Linked DNA regions of Homo sapiens: region 1 is linked to region 2. The links are contacts of gene promoters, found by promoter capture Hi-C in human tissues and cell types (Jung and others, 2019). All regions are on one chromosome and are shown on one strand. The core of a region is centred on a gene start or on the middle of the fragment in contact, and the rest is flanking DNA. Distances in the headings are between cores, read along the strand shown. Region 1 overlaps METTL24 (methyltransferase like 24). Region 2 holds the start of METTL24 (methyltransferase like 24).

What was found. Contacts are between HindIII fragments. The study calls those that stand out against the background at their distance.
Region 1: a contact is called between a fragment that was not itself captured here and the fragment with the promoter of METTL24 in region 2, in 1 of the 25 tissues and cell types used here (dorsolateral prefrontal cortex).

Annotation. Positions count from the first base shown.
Region 1 is chr6:110,297,369-110,301,685 of GRCh38, reverse strand. METTL24 (methyltransferase like 24) reads left to right here. Exons shown (of 5, transcript NM_001123364.3): 4 at 2,536-2,764. Among named protein-coding and RNA genes, the nearest start is that of METTL24, 59 kb to the left of the region's middle. The HindIII fragment of the contact is 5,139 bases long and covers 287-4,317 here.
Region 2 is chr6:110,356,620-110,360,749 of GRCh38, reverse strand. METTL24 (methyltransferase like 24) reads left to right here and starts at 2,401. Exons shown (of 5, transcript NM_001123364.3): 1 at 2,401-2,795. The coding sequence starts at 2,478. RefSeq lists an enhancer at 1-64. The HindIII fragment of the contact is 11,777 bases long and covers 1-4,130 here.

The DNA of each region.
Region 1 (4,317 bases), core at 1,607-4,106, 60 kb after region 2:
TGTTGCTTGTATGTCTGCAGGTCAGCTGGGCTTCAGTTGATCCAGGATGGGCTTAGCTGTGAGGCTTTCTTTACTTCAGGCTGAGATGGCTAAGGGAGGTTCTGTATTTTACAGAGGGCCGGTGGACTGGCTGGAGTGCAAATTCTCGAGGGCACGTTTTTATCATGATGACAGTGTAAGAGAGAGAACAGAAGCACTGAAGGCCTAGGATCTGGACTGGCACACTCCCACTTCCTTCCATAAAGCAAGGCACATGGCCAAGCCAAAAAGTCAAGGGGCAGGGAAGGACTCTTTCTCATCATGAGCATGGAGTAGTGTGGATGGTGCAGGGTTGAAGGAGCAGAGTCGACAAGTCAATCTGCCACACCAGATTAGATCATGGAAAACTGGGGTAGAGACTTCAGTGGTCTGAGCTGTGTGGATTCAGTAGGTGGTAGAAAATAGGGAATAGGAACTGTTAGGTGGAAGAAATGGAAGTGCTTGTGAGAGGAGTGCTGAATTTTCTCCAGGCAAAAAGTGTTGGAAAAGCTATGGCGGAGGGACATCAGAGGGCTGACTTACCATGGGATGCAGTCGGAAAAAGAGCAGTGTAGTTGGGTGAAGGGTGAGGAAGAGGCAAATAAGACTATAATCACCCCTCAGCACCTGTGGAGGTTGGTTGCAGGACCACTGCAAAGACCAAAATTTAGGATGCTCAAGTCCTGGATATAAAATGGTGTAGTATCTGTATATAACCAATGCACATCCTCCTGCATAATTTAAATCATTTCTAGATTACTTATAATACCTAATACGATGTAAATGCCATGTAATAGTGATTATACTGTATTGATTTTTATTTTTACTATTTTTAATGTTGTATTATTTTTTTATTTTTGTTTTTTCGAATATTTTCAATCTGCGGTTGGTTGAATTTGTGGATCAGATCTGTGGATACAGAGGGCTGCCTGTATTAAGAATGTCTAGGTGGGGTGCCATGGCTCATGCCTGTAATCCCAGTACTTTGGGAGGCCAACGAGGGTGGATCACCTGAGGTCAGGAGTTCGAGACCAGCCTGGGCAACATGGTGAAACCCCGTCTCTACTAAAAGTACAAAAGTTAGCCAGGCATGGTGGGGCACACCTGTAATCCCAGCTACTTGGGAGGCTGAGGCAAGAGAATTGCTTGAACCCTGGCGGCAGAGGTTGCAGTGAGCTGAGATCACGCCACTATGCTCCGGCCTGGGTGATGGAGCCAGACTCCATCTAAAAAAAAAAAAAAAAAGCATGTCTCGGTGGATGATCTCTGAACTGAAGGCTTATTTTAGTTAATTAAAATAAGGTAAATAATTATTATCCACTGAACTTGTGTATTTCCAGATTATGCAATAGTCAGTCATCCCTCCGTATGGGGTTGGCGGTTGGTTCTAGGCCACCCTCTCCCCACCAACGGATACCAAAATCCACGAACTATCAAGTCTGGGTGTGGAACTCACAGATACAAAACATTCGCCCTTCATATCAGTAGGCTCCTGCATCCTATCAATGCTGTATTTCTGATCCATGTTGGTTGAATTTGTGGACGTGGAACCCACAGCTATGGAGGGCTCACTGTATTTATTGAAAAACATCCACTTACAAAATACTTGTAGAATCTATGAGAATGAAGTATTTCTGCACTGGGTTTAGGTTCGGCCAAGTAGTGTAGCTACTCTGTGGGATTTTGGTATCCTAAATCACATATGAGTACAGTATTGGGGCAGAAAAGCCATAATCACCATTAAAAAAATCATTCTCAGTTAATTTCATGCTTTTCATTAAAACTGGTGTTTTAATCAAAGTGACGATCCTTGCACCATTAAATAGGGAATATTTCTGAGTCAATTCAATATTTGGAAGTTTATTATTTTCCGTATGGTGTGCTACCTATTGAGTACTTAAGTACAATTAATTCATAATTTCTTCCCCTTTTGATGTGAATTTAGGTGAGGAAACCGTCTGCTTCTTGAGTTTTGGATGCAGTAGAATCACATACATTTGCCTTTTTTCTTATTTGCACTATTTAAAAATATATTACATTTCTAAGAAAACAGCTGTTGTCTTTAAGTCAAATTGCATACACAACACTGTGGCCATTAGAATGGAGACAAATTACCTCATTAGTAGAACACATCTCTCCTCAAGAGAACTAATCCTGGGGCTTATATTTGTGGACATATTCTAAGAAAATCTAAGACTACTGGATAGTCTTCTTTGTTTCATTGCTACTGTGATTTACATCACTTAAAAAAAAAACAATTTGATGATGCGCCTACATGTTTGAGTATGTGATTCTCTGGTCTTTGTCTAGCAGATAATTTATCTTTTATCCAGAAGCTTTGAGCAATAATGCTTTTTTGTGAAAGAAAGTTTATTGAATGTGTACATTAGCCATGGGTTAAAACAGGAGAAGGCTTGATATAACTAAGAACCTTGGCCTTGGAACTGTCATCTTGTTAGTCCAACACTTTGCTTCATTGCATTTTTTGTTGTTGATTTCCGTCCTCTTTCTTTATAGGCTAGGAAGTGATGATACCCATTTTGAGGTTAGCATGGCCAACAACGGATGTGAAGTGCATCGTTTTGATCCTAGTGTCAAGTCAGCTCACATTCTGGAGAGTCAGCACCTTTGGTATCACCGCTTGTCCATTGACTGGCGGGATCCCCATCCAGCTGTTGCTGCCCAAAAACCACATAGCAACACCAGAAAACTGGGAAGCATTTTGAATGAATTTGGACATCACAAGGTGAGGTTTTTCATTTGATTTTATACTTGAATAAAGTAAACAAACCCATCAGCTTTTTAAAATGCAAACCAAGAATAGCAACATTGACATTGGATAGCTGAAGGTCCGATTTTAATCTTACTAATCACCCAACATTATTTATAGAGTCAACTCTAGACATAAAGTGTTGGCAAGGATAGAGATATTTAAGTTGATGTGAAGATTTTAGTTGCTGTTGAGTAATGTTAATGGTCTTGTCCAAGACTAGGCAAGAAGACTAAGAAACTTACTTCTGGCACAGGCTGAAGAATACCATTTTCATTTGGCAACTGACTTACACTTTCCAGAAAGAGCAAACTACTTATGTTGACCTCAAATACAAAAAAAAAAATCGGGGTTATGTTTACTAAGATATTGCTTGTGTATCATGTTTCTCACTGTTGTGACATGTTTCTCACTATTTTGAACGTCTAGGCTCTACACAGAAAATATATATAGCTTTGATTAAGATTTACTTTATAAAATTGAATGGACATGTACATTACAAATTATATAATTATACCAAAGGATGTCAAATCTCTGCAAACATTTTATTATGAATGGACAGCAAAAAAGAAACAATCTTTGAACTGTGTTCTTTGAAAGCAATTTTTAGTGTAGTATACCCGAGCTAACTGTATTCTGTAGGCAGATACTAGAGAATTTCTCCTGAGTGCAGTTGGCTTGTGTTTGATCTTCAGCCTTTCTTGGGTTTGGCTATTTTGGCCTGTGTTCCCAGCCAGAGATGCCATGTGATTTAGAACAGGTCAGAATGGGTGTTTCTGTTTGAGAAACAGTGTGCCTGAGACTCAATTTTAAACTTGAGTTGGCTTCTTGATTTTCAGTAAGAAGCTTTTCCCTGCATTGCCGTTCCTCCTCCTCCTCCCCTCTTCCTCCCTTTTCTCTGCCTCCTTTCTTCATCTTCCTCTTCCTTGTCCCTCCTCCCCCTCTTCTTCTTCCTCCTCCTCCTCTTCATCCTTTAAACAACCTTTAGATAGCCCATGCTTCTTCAAGAACAACTTCAAAGAATTTGCTGTTCTTTTAACACGCAATTAACTATTAATTTGTATTTTGCTTTGCCACCAAGGGTAACTGGTGGCATTTAATAGTCAGGAGCCTTAGTGAGACACATATAGGATTTTTGGGTAAAATCTCAGAAGAGAACTCCTTTTTACATGCTGTTAATGTTTTTCATATGTGTGGGAAGAAGCAGAAGCATTTTTCAGAACTTTATTTAGGGTTTTGTTTTTTTCTTTTTTGCCACTCGTTACCTTTGTAGATCTGTTTTTTACAGCTGAGAATTACAGGCCTAATTCTCTAATATGTCAACTTTAGATTATTCAAAGAGTTAACTACTTATTCTTTGTGTTCAGTTAGGAGTCTTGCTGTTCCTGCTTTATGCTCTTTACATCCTAGCCCTCTCCAGCACCACTCTTCAAAGAAAAGACTGAGTAGGAGAAAAAGAGAAACTCAATGCCATTTTGCTTATTTTTTTCCCCAATAATACTGTAGCAAAAGATTTGGTAAAGGTGAGG
Region 2 (4,130 bases), core at 1,152-3,651:
TCCATTAGATTTGCCTCTTCAGCCCACAGACTGACCCATTTTACTATTCATTATCATCCACCACACAGGAAAACACTGTGTGGAAGTTAAAAATAGGTTTCTTCCAGAAAATTGATGCTACATACATATAAACGGTTCTTTTTTATTAGTAATAAACACATAGACATAAACACAACTGCAAAAGATAAAAGGCTATTTAAATATTCCATGTAATTTGAATTTTTTTCCATAATGAAAACATTTTATTAGAGAACTGTAGAAATGAGATAAAGGAAAATATGAGGTCATCCTGCCCATTCTCTTCAAGAGCTACACTGTTTTGTATGCACCCCCACTCCATCCTCCACCCCCAGCCCAGAGTCTTATTAAATATCCCCATTTTAATAATATAGGAGAGTGCTTATGCTTCCCCACCCACCCCCAGAGAGAAACTCAACAGAGGAGCAGAGGGTACGCACTAGTGGCACCATGATCTTCAAAATATGACTTCTCTAGTTAGCGGCACTGTGTTGACTGCATAGAAAATAAAACTTCCAGCAAAGTCTACATCAGACATTACCAATCCAGGTTTATCAAGCACCCTACAAACTCTGTCTTAAAGAGCCTTATACAACTTAACAGAGTTCGTTTCTTGATGATTAATTGTTATTTTCTTGAAATTATTGGGTACTCTGAATTCCAGAGAATGCTGTATAAATTATTTGTAAATTTCCTTATACTTTATCTTTGCCCACTTTGGAATCAATGCTTACCTTTTGTTTTTCATGACAACATCCAGGATTTTCTTCCATGGTAAATAACAAAATAATTACTATTGAGACCCTTCTGTGAGCCAGTATTATTTGGGCATGAAACATATAATATTTTATGCAACATTTATAATCCTGCCATATATATAGATCTGTTTATTCATGGGAAAACGGAAACTCAGAGAGGTCCAGTACTTCGTTGAAAGTCTCATAGTGCTTGAACGGCAGGGTCCTGGTTCAAACACAGTTCAAGTAAATAGTCACAGGATGTGAGGCTGGCTCTCAGTTTGTGTAAGGAAAAACTCGTACTTGTTTAAATTTGTTAAAATAGAACCCATCTGCAATATCCCCTGGACTCATCTAAGAAAAAAGCAAAAGTCAATCCTAATGGAACGTTCAGGAGCCTGAGGATCTGGTGTGGCCAGGGGGTGGACTAGACTGGGTGGAGATATTTTGTTACATGTAGAGAAACAGCCCAAGTGCTTTGTTCACTAGCAGGGAATAAATTGGGTCTTTCTTAAGCCAGGAAGAGAAGAGGATTTTAGAGACGAGGGCTTCCTACGGAAAATACCCAACATTCAAAAGGGCAGGGGGGTAGGGCCCCATATTTGTTCTCTCTTGTCCATGCTGTAGGCTGTTACGGGGGAAGAGGATAGGTCTACAGGCGCAGTCTCCCATGGAAGCATGGAAAATGCAAGAGTAAAGCAAGGAAAAAAAGAAAAGTGACTACAGCTTAAAAAAATCTAAACCCAAACTCAAACCTAAAACCCAAACCCACCCCAAATGGGTTGTGGGAAAGGATTCTACTAACAATTGAAAATGGAACATCCACCACTGGACTTCAGGCTGTGAGAGTTCAGTCTGATTAATTAAGGTCAAGGTGGTGATGGAAATACCAGCTGGGGAGCATTTTGCCGAAAGATAAATTTGTCCCTCTGTATTTCTGCGAGACAGCAGGGAGGTGTGTGTTTGGAGCTAAATTAATTTGATTTACATCATGCCATGGTAACTTCTGTTCTCTCTCCCCCCTCCTCACCAACCCGCTGTCAGATGTCTTAGCTGGCTTTTTCCCTCTTCTTCTTCACCCCCACACATTTCATAACACGGAAAGAAAGCACGAATTGGCTTCAGGCAGAATTTAGACATAGAATAACTCTAATTTGATTATTCTGCATTGAGTGCTATTCTCTTCGCCCCCCAATCCCTTTCTTTCTTGAGAGAGAGAGAGAAGTTGTAAGCCCGGGCATAAGTGCTATTTATTTTTATATTGTGCTTAATGGTGCAAACTGCTTGACTGTTCCTTGTATGCTCACCTACCCTCCTCCTGTGTTTCTCCAACAACACTAATACCAGAAAATGAAGTTATGGCCCGGGATCCCGTTAGGAATGCGCTTTTTCTGGCCCTATGTCTTTCAGCTCCGTCAGGCTTTGGAGGCCGGGGCGGAGGGCACCTCTTGAGGGACCCTGTACAGCCGGGCCCTGGCACCTCCGGAGGGGCGGAGAGGGCCCCCTGTGACCGCGTTCGGCCCACCACCGTTCCAGCGGCGGGGCGCGCTCGGCAGGGCAGGATAAGGTTACGCCGGGGCTTCCTCGGTCGGGAGGGAGGGAGGCGGGTCCGAGCCCGCACCCCGGCCCGCGGGGGAGTTCCCACAGTTGGCCGCTCCGGCCTGTGGGGCTACATCCCTGCTGCCGGCCAGGCGCGGCCCGCGGGACCCCGAGTGTAGCGCCATGGCCCGGGAGAGGCCGCCCGGGAGGGGCTGCGGCGTCCTGCGCCGGTGTCTACTCGGGGCTGTGCTGTTGTTCGGCCTGCGGCTCTGCGCAGAGCTGCGGCGCGCCGGGCCCGGGTCCCCCACCCGCAGCGCCCCGCCGGGCCCGGCCTGGCGGCCACCTGGGCCGCACCTGCCGCCCGCGCCGGGCCAGCCGCGCGGCGCCAGCAGGAGGCAGGTGACCTACGTGCGCAGCGGTCGCCGGGCGCCGCCGGGGGGCGGCGGGAGCGGGACGCCGGAGCCTGGCTGCTGTGCCCCGCGCGGGCGCCCCCGCCGGAAGGTCAGTTGCAAAGCGGTCGGTCTTGGGCCTGGGACCAGAAGCCCCCTCCCGACCGCGCTACGGAGCCCGGCGCTCAGGTCCCGCAGGCCGCCTCGATGGGACCTCCGGAGGCTTCCGCTTCTTCTCTTCCCCCTGTGCTCTCTTAGGCGGCTCCACGGGTCGCATCTTTCAGTGCCCAGATAGACTGAAGTGCGGCCAAGCGGAGTTCATTCACTATTCAGCCAGTACTTGGGGGTCGCCGTGGCCGGGCGCCCTTCTAGGCTCCGCGCATCCCGTGAAGAAGGACGGAGCCCTGTTCTCACGGAGGATACACTTTAGTAGGGGAGTGTTTGCGTGATAGGCAGGGAAAGGGAAAGGGAAAGGAAGGCGTTGTGGCTGCCATTGATGTGCTGTGCTGCTCCCAGCCTTCTGCTTAAGGCCTGGACAGAGTTGGGTGGGTATCGCCGTGAATGGCCTGTCCACGCCACTGCCTTCATCTCGCTGAAGATCCACCAGCTGGCCGAATTTCCCTGGAGTCTCATTCCAGGCGTTGGCTGGGGGCTGGGAGGCTGGCGCCAGTTGAGAAGCCGAGCACCCAGCCCCACTTAATGAGAAGTTAATTGGATCCTCGAGGACCCAAGTAATAACCTGGGTTTGTCTTATAACTCTCGACCGTGTTGTGCCTCCTACCTCATTAACTTCTTGGCTTACACCTCACTGATTAGTCCATTTTTAGCCTCTGATTGTTAAGGTTTTGGGCTCATCTCCTTTTTGGAGCTCGGTAATTTGCGTCGTACATGGAAATGAAAAGAACTACAGGTATGAGCTCTCCTCATCCTTTTACCCATCAACTCCTGCTTCCAGCCTCAACCACGTTCTCCAAAGCAACTACTTTCCGTTGCCCGGCTGTTCCTCGTTTCTTTTAGACATCCACCCCAACCTCCACCCCGCTTCCCATCACCGGTCCTGGAGGGGAGGGAACAACTCTTCCTTTGCCTCGCTGCTGTCTTCGGCTGCCCAGTGCTAGCCTACTTTTCAGCACCACAACCCAGCACTCCTGCCGGGCTTCACTTCCTCGCTTCCTTCGGGCCTCGCCCTCCGTTTTTCCACACCACTGCTGTTCCTTGCTGGGCCATCGTGCTAACTTCCTGGATAAACTGAAATACCTTTTTCTATCTCGCAAACCTCACCTCCTGTGTAAAGTCTTGATTAGATCTTCCAGAAGAAAGCAGCCACTTCCTCTCCAAGTTCCTAATTCACTGTCCGTGATACCATGTTAAACATTCAGCACAGTTTTGCCAAGGGCTTACCAGGTAGGCATCTGGTGCTGGAGGCACAAAACGAGTTCAGATTCTC